2 separate regions of the Homo sapiens genome follow, and region 1 is linked to region 2. Evidence: promoter capture Hi-C in human tissues and cell types (Jung and others, 2019). All regions are on one chromosome and are shown on one strand. The core of a region is centred on a gene start or on the middle of the fragment in contact, and the rest is flanking DNA. Distances in the headings are between cores, read along the strand shown.

The links. The method cuts DNA at HindIII sites, captures the fragments that hold promoters and counts their contacts. A contact is called where the count stands out against the background at its distance.
Region 1: a fragment that was not itself captured here is called in contact with the fragment with the promoter of LRFN5 in region 2 in 2 of the 25 tissues and cell types used here (dorsolateral prefrontal cortex and mesendoderm cells).

Annotation. Positions count from the first base shown.
Region 1 is chr14:41,871,867-41,876,606 of GRCh38, forward strand. All of the region lies in intron 2 of LRFN5 (leucine rich repeat and fibronectin type III domain containing 5), which reads left to right. Among named protein-coding and RNA genes, the nearest start is that of LRFN5, 270 kb to the left of the region's middle. The HindIII fragment of the contact is 5,997 bases long and covers 1-4,290 here.
Region 2 is chr14:41,605,037-41,609,903 of GRCh38, forward strand. It overlaps LRFN5 (leucine rich repeat and fibronectin type III domain containing 5), which reads left to right and starts at 1,840. Exons shown (of 6, transcript NM_152447.5): 1 at 1,840-3,526. The HindIII fragment of the contact is 3,229 bases long and covers 1-3,221 here.

The DNA of each region.
Region 1 (4,740 bases), core at 42-2,541, 270 kb after region 2:
TAAAGTTGAGGACATTAGCCAACACTTGTACTTACTCCACATATTTAACCAATAACCATGTTGGTAAGCTTTTTTTAATTATTATTTTACATTCTTATAGTTAGGGAATGTGGGCTCAATGGCTTTTTTAAAATAAGAATTTCTTTAGCTGGTTTGAAATAATAATCTCTCCTATCTAAGTTACTATCAAGAAATGCTTCAGAGACTGAATGAACAGTGCCTACCTGCTGATAGATGACAGATGTAGGCTAAATGTGTTTATTCACTTTAATCATCATATAATATTTGTTTTTAGTAATTTTTGTTACAGCTTACAGCTATACCTGTCAAAAACTTCTCAATTAGTAGATAACTTTTATGGCTATGACTAATCACTAATGTGGATGATTTACTATTGAAAGAACCCAAGTTACTTTTAACTTTTTGAAAAATTTACAGAAAAGAGCTACACACAAAAAGTATCTAAAGTATCTATAGACATATAGACTTGAATGCATGCTATGTTTTTTTCTAATCATTTTAGCATATTCATATTTGATGCTTTAATGATTTAAAATCACACTGTAACCAATTGAAATTAGTTTGGCTATAAATAACAGACTTTTCAAAATAGTAGTAGTTTAAACATGTTAGAGAGCAATCCAGGGCTGGAAGAGTAAATTCAAGGCAATTAGGAATGAGTCCTTATCATCCTTGCTCATGACTCTCATCTTCAAGATTACCTTAATGTCCCAGTTTGGTGCTAGGGTTCCACACATTATATTCGAACTGTAATTTGAAAGAAGGCAAACAGCACAGGATAAGTGGTAGATCCCATCTCAGTTATCTCCGTGTAAGCAGCCTGCTGTGAAGTTCTCAACATTTTCGCTTAATATCATTGGAAGGCACAATTTACAAAACAAACATTCTGGGCAATGCAATGGGTAAAAATTAGGTTCTTCTTCTAAAGAAGGGACAAGTGGATATTAGAAACGCAACTAGTACTTTCTCATAAACACATAACATGGGCACATATGTGTGCACACAGATATGCGTATAGATTTGCATACACAAAAGTATATATGATAGTTTATTCTGTTTTTTCACTAAACTTTTGTCTAAATTCCACTTCTTTATGAGTCATAAACATTTCAATGGCTTGATTTAAAATTCACTGAGTTGATGTAGCATTGTTCACCCTAAAATTGGTAATAGGCTGTTTCCACTTTGTTATTGTTCTTGCTTACTACACTGTTGCAGTAATGACGGCTGCTGCAGCTGCTGCTTATGGAGAATCTGTCCTGGGCCAAGAATTTTGTTAAACAGTTTGTATTTACAATGAGTGAATAAAACTGCATCTTGATCCTATTTTCAGGCATAGTGCAGGATTTGAAGGAAACACAAACTCAAATCACAGAAACACAATTAATGCAGAGCTTTTTTAAATTTTTCTTTAGGGGTAGAAGAGCAGAGTGCACTTCCCAAAATACAATAAAATGTACTAAATATTCTTAATGCTCCGTTTTCCTAAGACAGAAGAGAGAGAAAGAGAGAGGAGAAAGAGAGAGAGAGACAGAGAGAGAGAGAGAGAGAGAGAGAGAGAAGGAGAGAGACATTGCGTTCAGTGATATAAAATCTTCCATATGGTGTTAGTTTGTCAAAATATTTCTGTAGGAGTACTGCCGGAACTTTCCACCCACACACATTCTTGGTATTTATACCCTCAGTAAATTCATTTTTTGTCCTTCTGTATGTGGGTATGCCTTTCTTCTCCCATTTTTCATGTTCACAGAGACTCAGCTATTCAATTTGATTTTCTGATAGAGATAACTAGGCTACCTCAATGCCCACAATAATATGAAGAGAAATTATTTCCTGAAGAATTTTCCATATTTCTAGATGCCTGAATTCTGTCATAGAGCATCTCCATACTGATGATCATTCTTTCTGCATTGCTTTACTACTGTGTTTCTTTAATTGCTATGGCAACAGCACAACAGAGCCAATATAACCACAGGGACTACAGTTACAAGAAATGTTAAATACCCTAGGGAAACTGAAATACAGTGGATAGTTTGATATCTCTGTGGCTCAGAGATTCACCTTTCAGAATTTCAAGGAAAAACTGGATAAAGTAATAAATCATTTATTAGATTTGAAACACCAGTTAATAGCATTCAAATTTGTATTATAACCTTTTTTATGTCCTTTCAAGTTGTCATAAATCAACGTGAATTCCAGGAAAGAGGCTGCTATATTGGAAGAAACAGGGGTCATCTACTGTGCTGAGGTAGCAGCATGATGATTTCATTGCATTTCACATTTGTGGCAATGTTCAATGTGTGAGTCTTTCCTAATTCCTGTGACCATTGAAGCCTAATTATCCTGCAATGAGATGCAGTAGAAAGAGAACTGGGGCATTAAATTCAGGTTGGAATCTTAGATACCTAATAATGTTTTCTGGCCTTCACTGAGATTCAGATTCCTCATTAATCAATGATGTAGAACTCAAGATCTTTTTACTCTGATGCTTTCCAAAAGGCACAGATATGTTGAGGCAAACATCTTCAGGTTTGACATTGATAGGGAGCAACAGGGCAATATCACAGCAACAATATACTCTGTAACTGAAAGGTAACAACTCTGCTTATTTATCTGAAGCCACATGCCTACCCACATTTTATATAGAATATTGTTCTTTGCTATACTTTCTTGGGTCCTTTCTCCTCTTCCTCATAATGCACTTTAATTTATCAAGTAGAGGAATTTGGCTATCCTTGTTTTATTGTACCTACAAAAGCAATGCCCTGGGGAATGTACCTTTCACAAACAAAGTGGATAATCAAATTATTTATCTAAATGAATATATTAGTCAATTCTCACACTCCTAATAAAGACATACCCAAGATTGGGTAATTTATAAAGAAAAGAGGTTTAATTGACTCACAGTTTAGCGGGGCTGGAAAGGCCTCAGGGAACTTACAATCATTGTGAAAAGAGAAGCAAACATGTCCTTCTTCACATGGTGGCAGCAAGAAGTGCTGAGCAAAAGGAGAAAAAGCCCCTTATAAAATCAGCAGATCTCATGAGAACTCACTCACTGTCACAAGAATAGCATGAGGGTAACCACCCCTATGATTCAGTTACCCCCCCACCAACTGGGTCCCTCCCATGACACATAGGGATTGTAGGAACTACAAATTGAGATGAGATTTGGGTGGGGAGAAAGTCAAACAATATCAACAAATAGCCATCTACTCCCCAGATTAATTGTACTTATCTCCTGGAGGTACTACTGTTTTAATTAATTGAAGTTTTATATATGAATTATCTCCCTCTTTTCTACCCACATCACTCCCCTTTCCCAGATATTTCCCACTTACTTCTGCACATGCATAGGAAATGCTCATGAACAACAAAAATTCATTTTAGGGAACCATTGCCACCTGCGCCAGCTGACTCAACTCCAAACTCCTGCTGTTCCAGCACTGTAGGGAATCTTCACAGCCTCTTAGCACTAGCCTTTTCTAGGCTGCTTTTTCTCCCCAAACAATTTTCTGCAAGAAAGAACACATTTACCTTCACAGTTCCTAGTAGTATTTACTGGTAGGATCCATGGGTTCCCAATATCACATAGAGTCTCTGTAGGGAGATTTCTGAGTAGGCAAGATAGGTGACAACTCAAGCTATACCAATTAAAGAATACTGAGATTTCTTTACATACAGAAATCACTCTCTCTTGTATGAGGTGGAATTTATACACTTAAAAGAAAACTTAGCATTCTGCATTAAAATATTTGGGTGACTTCAGTCATGTTTTCACTTACCAAAGAAAAATGAATGACTATAGTTAAGTGTGTCATTTTGGTTGCCTTCCAAGTTGTTCTGATGTCTTTACTGTGTGAAAGAAAATAGAGTCTTTAGGATCCCAAACTCACAATGCCAAAGGGAAAGTTAAGGTTGGAAACTGAGTCATGTAATACTGTCTTCCTTCTGTTCCCCAAAAGAGAGTTGTTATTTCACAACACTGTGTCCTGACTTCTTACATAAATCAGGTTCCCACTATAGGCCACGTATTTAACCAGCTGGCCTCCCTCACAAATTGCTCATGAGGAAATTCCCTGTAAGCTCCTAAATCTTTCAGGATACATATATAACCTGAAAGATACATATGTATACATGTAAGGGAGATATCCCCCTCTGTAACCTAGCACTAAATCCAAGTTCTGTTTAATCTCACCCCGACTATGTCAATTACTAGCTTATCTTCACAGGTGCAGGACAAGAGCAGACCAGAAATCATTTCTCCACCTACCCAGAGAAGAATGCGTAATATAATTGTTCTCTATTCTATTTGTTCATGTTTCCTATATTTTATGTAAAATGTAGATACACTGAGCACCAGAGGAATGCGTAATTGTCTTTTTCTTTCTTTTTTTTTTTTTTTTTTTTTGAGACGGAGTGTCGCTCTGTCGCCCAGGCTGGAGTGCAGTGGTGCCATCTCAGCTCACTGCAAGCTCCGCCTCCCGGGTTCACGCCCTTCTCCTGCCTCAGCCTCCCGAGTAGCTGGGACTACAGGTGCCCACCACCATGCCTGGCTTTTTTTTTTTTTTTTCTTTTTCTTGTATTTTTAGTAGAGATGGGGTTTCTCCGTGTTAGCCAGGATGGTCTCAATCTCCTGACCTCGTGATCCACCCGCCTTGGCCTCCCAAAGTGTTGGGATTACAGGCGTGAGCCACTGTGCCCAGCCAGTTGTCTTTT
Region 2 (4,867 bases), core at 590-3,089:
AGAAGCGATCAAGTTTAAAGTGAAAGGGGGATGGAAGCATTTTTTCTCCCTATGCCTTCGGAGTCTGTGGCTTCAGTTTGCTGCAGGTTCTCTCCGTGGACTTCTCAGAAACCTCAACTTTCCACTTCGAGGGACAGAAAGCTACAAGGAAAACGCTGATGGTTTTGGTGGAGATTCTCCTGGACTTCAGTGGTGTCCTCTGGTACATCTGTCCGCGGTGTCCCTTTGGTTTATTTCTGTGGTCTTCCTGCGCAGTCCCTCAGCGGCTCGGAGTTTGGCCTTCCAGCTCTCCAACTCAGATCCTGAGCCTCCTAAGCTCCCGCGGAGACCCTGAAGTCCCGGATCTGGCGCCGCTCGCCGACCTGGAGGGAGGCTGCACCGCTGAAGTGCAGTCTCGGAGCTGCGCTCCTCTGGAACAAAGCAGCCAGACGTGGCTTGAGTGGATTCCTAAGCCAAGGATTGGATCCGGAGTACCAGGGGCAGAGAGGGGGAGCAGAGGAAAGAAAGGAGATGTGAGGAGTTTCCACCTAAAGCACTTCACTCCTCGTGTTCTTCCCCGACAGAGATAGCTGTGTGGTTCTTCCTTACGCGTGGGTGCAGGTGTGCGCGCTTGGGGTGAGCCCATGGTTGTGCTCGAGTATACGGGCGCCTGTGCACCTCCAGGGCAATGGTAAAGCCTGGCAGAGCTCTTTTTGGAACAAAATGAAGGAGCTCCATATCCACGGAGGCCACCCGTATGGGCCTTTGCCAAGTAGGGCAGAAGAAGCCCTTGTTAGCCAGCTTCCCTTTGCAACTTCCTACTCTTCCTTTGGGTACAGACTGGTGTCTGGGCTAGCTAGGATCACAGCTGAGAGCGAAGGTGCTCTCAGTGTCCGAAGACCACGTGCTGGTGAACCCACAATGAGAAGCGAAAGGGTTTCAGGACTCTAGCAGAAAGGAAGAGCAAGATTTCACTCAGGGTTTCTTAGAAGAAAGAGTTAACTTTGCTCACTGGCTTTTCCAGGATGGAGGGAGTGGGGATAGGGTCGGGGAGAGAAGCATTGGGAGTCTTGTCGGAGTCTCAAGCAAAACCAGGCGAGGGCTCCGGGCAGATCCATTCCCGCAGGGCCCTGTCTAACCTCCTTTCCAGTCGCACCTCTTTCCTGCTTTAGACCCTGCGTCTGTGCCGGTGACCTTAGAGACTAGGTCTGGCTTATGAAGACTGTTGGGCTCCCTTTCTGCCCTTCACATAGTAAAATGTGACCAACTGCAGTATTCGTAATGTCTGATGCTGAGCTGAGTTGATTCCCAAATATAAATGTTCTTTTCAGAATCCGCTCCCATCTGATTAGTAAGCAAATCACCACCCACAACTAAGGGGACAGCGGAAGCCAGCCTCAGATGACTGAAACCCCCAAGTCAGTAGCTCTCCTCAAAATTTCCGGCGGGTTATTATAGATAATGACTTTTCCCACCGCCCTAAGCAGCCGAAGCTTGACTCAGTGATGATTCTCTCTATCCCGTAACTGCGAGGAAGTGGGCGATCAGCAAATTGCCCTTTTGCAGGAGGCTGGGGACGCCCCTGGAAGTTCGCTTTCATTCTCCAGGTTTTCTGCCTTTTCCCTTCCCCCTTCCTGCAACGCCCCCGCGCCTCCTCAGCCTGGGGATTTCCTGGCGCTTCGCCGGCCCTCTCCGCAACCCCCTGATAAATCGGTTCAGAACCAGTCTGGCTGGGAGGCCCGAGGGCTGACAGCAGCGGAGCGGCCCCGGCCGGGGTCTCACGGACTCTCGGGGTCTGGCCGACACGGCCGCTCCCGTCACTGCAGCGCGGGCTGAGCTCACGGCCGCGCGCCCGCCGCCGCCGCCGCCGCCGCCTTCATGCTGCAGCGCAGGGCTCAGTTCCACGCGGCCAGGAGGCCGCCGTTGCCCACACGCGACGCTTTGGGAAGCCCAGCTCCCGGGTCCGCCCCGGCCGCGGCCGCAGCCCCGGACCTCGGCTGCTTGCCTCGCGCCTGAACTGCGGACTCGCCCCAGCGCGGTGGCCAGCGGGCGGGGCGCTGTGTTCCGCGGCGCGCAGGGAGGCGGTGAGCGTGTGCAGAGCTGCCCGAACGGAGGACTATGTATGTGTGTGCGCGTGTTTGCGTGTGTTTGAGCGTGTTTTTCCTTCTTCCCTTGAGGATGTGAATTGTTTAGCAGCTGGCTGCTCCCTTAGGATCCTTGACTTTGGGGAGCTCTGGCTGTGAACACAGCCCACCCATATAATCCATTTTGCACGGTCCGTTATATCAGAAAAAAAAAGCGCAACTGGACGGGGGTGGGGCAGACCAACGAAACCTAGACAGACACACACACACTCAGAGGAGAGAGGAAGAATTGAAAGACTTGAGAAGACTTTGATAACCTCCCTGCTGGCCCTTCTGTGTTCCGGAAAGATCCTGGATGTTGGCTACCTTTTCAAGTCATCTTGGCATGTCTCTAGTGTTTTGTAAGCCGCTTTCCAGCTAGCTGCGTGTGTGTGTGCGCGCGCGTGTGTACGCGCGCGCCTATCTGATGCATTTGACTGTCTTTTATCCAACTGCCCAGAAGCAAATGTGTTAACTCGGCGATGCCCCTTCATGCCCGGGTTCTTGCAGAGCTCTGAGGACGCCCAGACCCATTTTCCTGGCTGGATTTGGAGCGGCTGCTGGGCTGTGGACCCAGGTGTGTGGATCGCTTTACCCAGAAGCTTGGAAAGCGCCAATATTAACCTGCTTCCAGGTACATCACAAGGTCAAGAGAGTGTCTTGCAGCCCTCTTGTTTCCGTGTATCTACACCTTCTTCTCTTGGCCAGAAGGATATTTACGTTTTGGTTCACAGCATTTGAAGCCAAAAGTTCAGCCCTTCGAACTGGTTTGCTATACAAAACAAAACAAAACAAATAAGGTAATGAGGATTGCTTATTAAACTGCTTAACAAAATCCCCGACTCTTCCTCAGCCCTTTCTCGGCTCCCTCCTCCCCACCAAAATGTCACCAGCTCTTGAATTACGTGGATTCGGGTTGGAGGAGAACTTGAAGGAAACGTGATTAAAGGGCTATGCGAGAACGCTCTCTTTGCTGCCCGCGGTCCGGTGGGCTTCGAAGCCAATCGTGAGAAGGACCGGTTCCCTCCGTGCTGCTTCCTCCCCGTGCAGTGCTGGGTGTGCGTGTGCGAGTGTGAGTGCAAGTGCGCGCGCGCCCGGGTGCGAGTGTGTGTGAGTGTGAGCGTGTGTCTGTGTGTGCGTGCGCGGCCGCCCTGCCTCTGCCCGCTCCCCGGGCGCGGAGCCGCGGGTTTCATGGGGCGATTGCAGCGATTCCCCCACCCAGAGCGACCTGCGGGCAGCGGCGGCAGTGGCAGGAGCCGCCTTTCCGATTCCCTACGATGCGGGTGCTGAGCTATGGCAAAGGGCAGCGAAGTGACGAGCGAGACCCGCGTACGACTGTGAAAGCCACCTGGAGCCACCTTGCCGGGATTGTACCTGCAGGCAGAAAGTCTTCCTACGACCGTCTTTTCCCTTAGAGGCACCAGGTAACAAACCAACGATTACTCGCCTCACCCAATTTCCTTTTGATCTTGTTTCTAGTGTCTTATCTGCATTGCAGGCTACTTTACTTATTAATGTTTTGAAAATCATTGGGAAGGGTTGGGTATCCAAGGGCGCCTGCTCTGTGATTTTGTAATACGATTTCTAGTAGGTGAAATATAAATCTATACCTAAGCACTTAATCTAGTAGTGAAAGCTTTGAGAATATGGATGTGCTCCACCCTGAGGATATTTTTTGAGAGCTAGGCGTGTGGAACCTGTCTGAAGATGCCAGAGATCAAAATTCTGTGTTTCCTTCAGGCTGTGGTTGCCACGGACCATTTGGTACCCAACCCTTTCCAGATTGTGAAGTGTGAGTGGGTGTTTGGTTTCCACCCATCATTTAAACCAAAGATCTTTTCTACCCTTTTCTACCTCTGGTGCCAGGTTGTTTTCCTTTCCTTGTTGTGGAGGAGCTTGCCAGATCTTTTTAGTAGTTGTAAATTACGCATCTGGAGACTTTGACTCGAAATGGAGTTTTCTTGGAACTTGGTTTGCATGAAAGGGAATACATATTGTCACGGCTGTGTGTCTTGAGATATGGTGTTTAACTGCCAGGACGTGCTTTTATGTAGCAGAATAAATCCATGAAAGAAGTCATTTTTATATCTAGCAGAACCAGGCTAAAACGATAGCCACCACCCAACATTCTCTCCAGCTGTATTGTCCCCGTCACGGACACGCAACTCCTTTGCGCGTTTTTTTGTTGTTGTTGTTTGTTTGTTTGTTTTATCCCTGTATAATAGATATTTTGAATTTTTTTTTTCCGGTGCCTTGATTTACAAGGAGCAGGTTGGATTTGCGACTGCCTAATTAACATATTGGGTCTGGTATGTTAAAATGAGATTTCCATGGCCGGCTGAAGCAGAACAAATTTAGTTAACTTCCAAAGCCCTTTACCCTGGCGCCTTTTTTTCCCCTGAATTCCCTTTCGTCTTATCTCAGCGCCCGCCCCCATCGGAAAATTTCACTCCTTTCTCGAAGACATTAGAATTAACAAGATAAAGCACTTCCAAAGTAGTCTCATCAATGTTTTATTCCATAGTGAAGACGGTCTGAATAATTTAACTAAGGAGTGTTCGTTTGTCTCCCGCCTTTGGGAGCTGCTTGCTGGCTACATTCAGCGGAGGATTTGGCCCAGCCAAGCTCAGGGTGCCCTGCTTCAGGAGGCAGTGACTGGGGCTGCTGGGGGGCGGGGGGTTCTCTTTGCTAACGCCGTTTAGGAAGTGTAGGGGCGCTGCCTGATTTTCCCCCACTCGCTGCATTTCTATAGATATCCATATGAT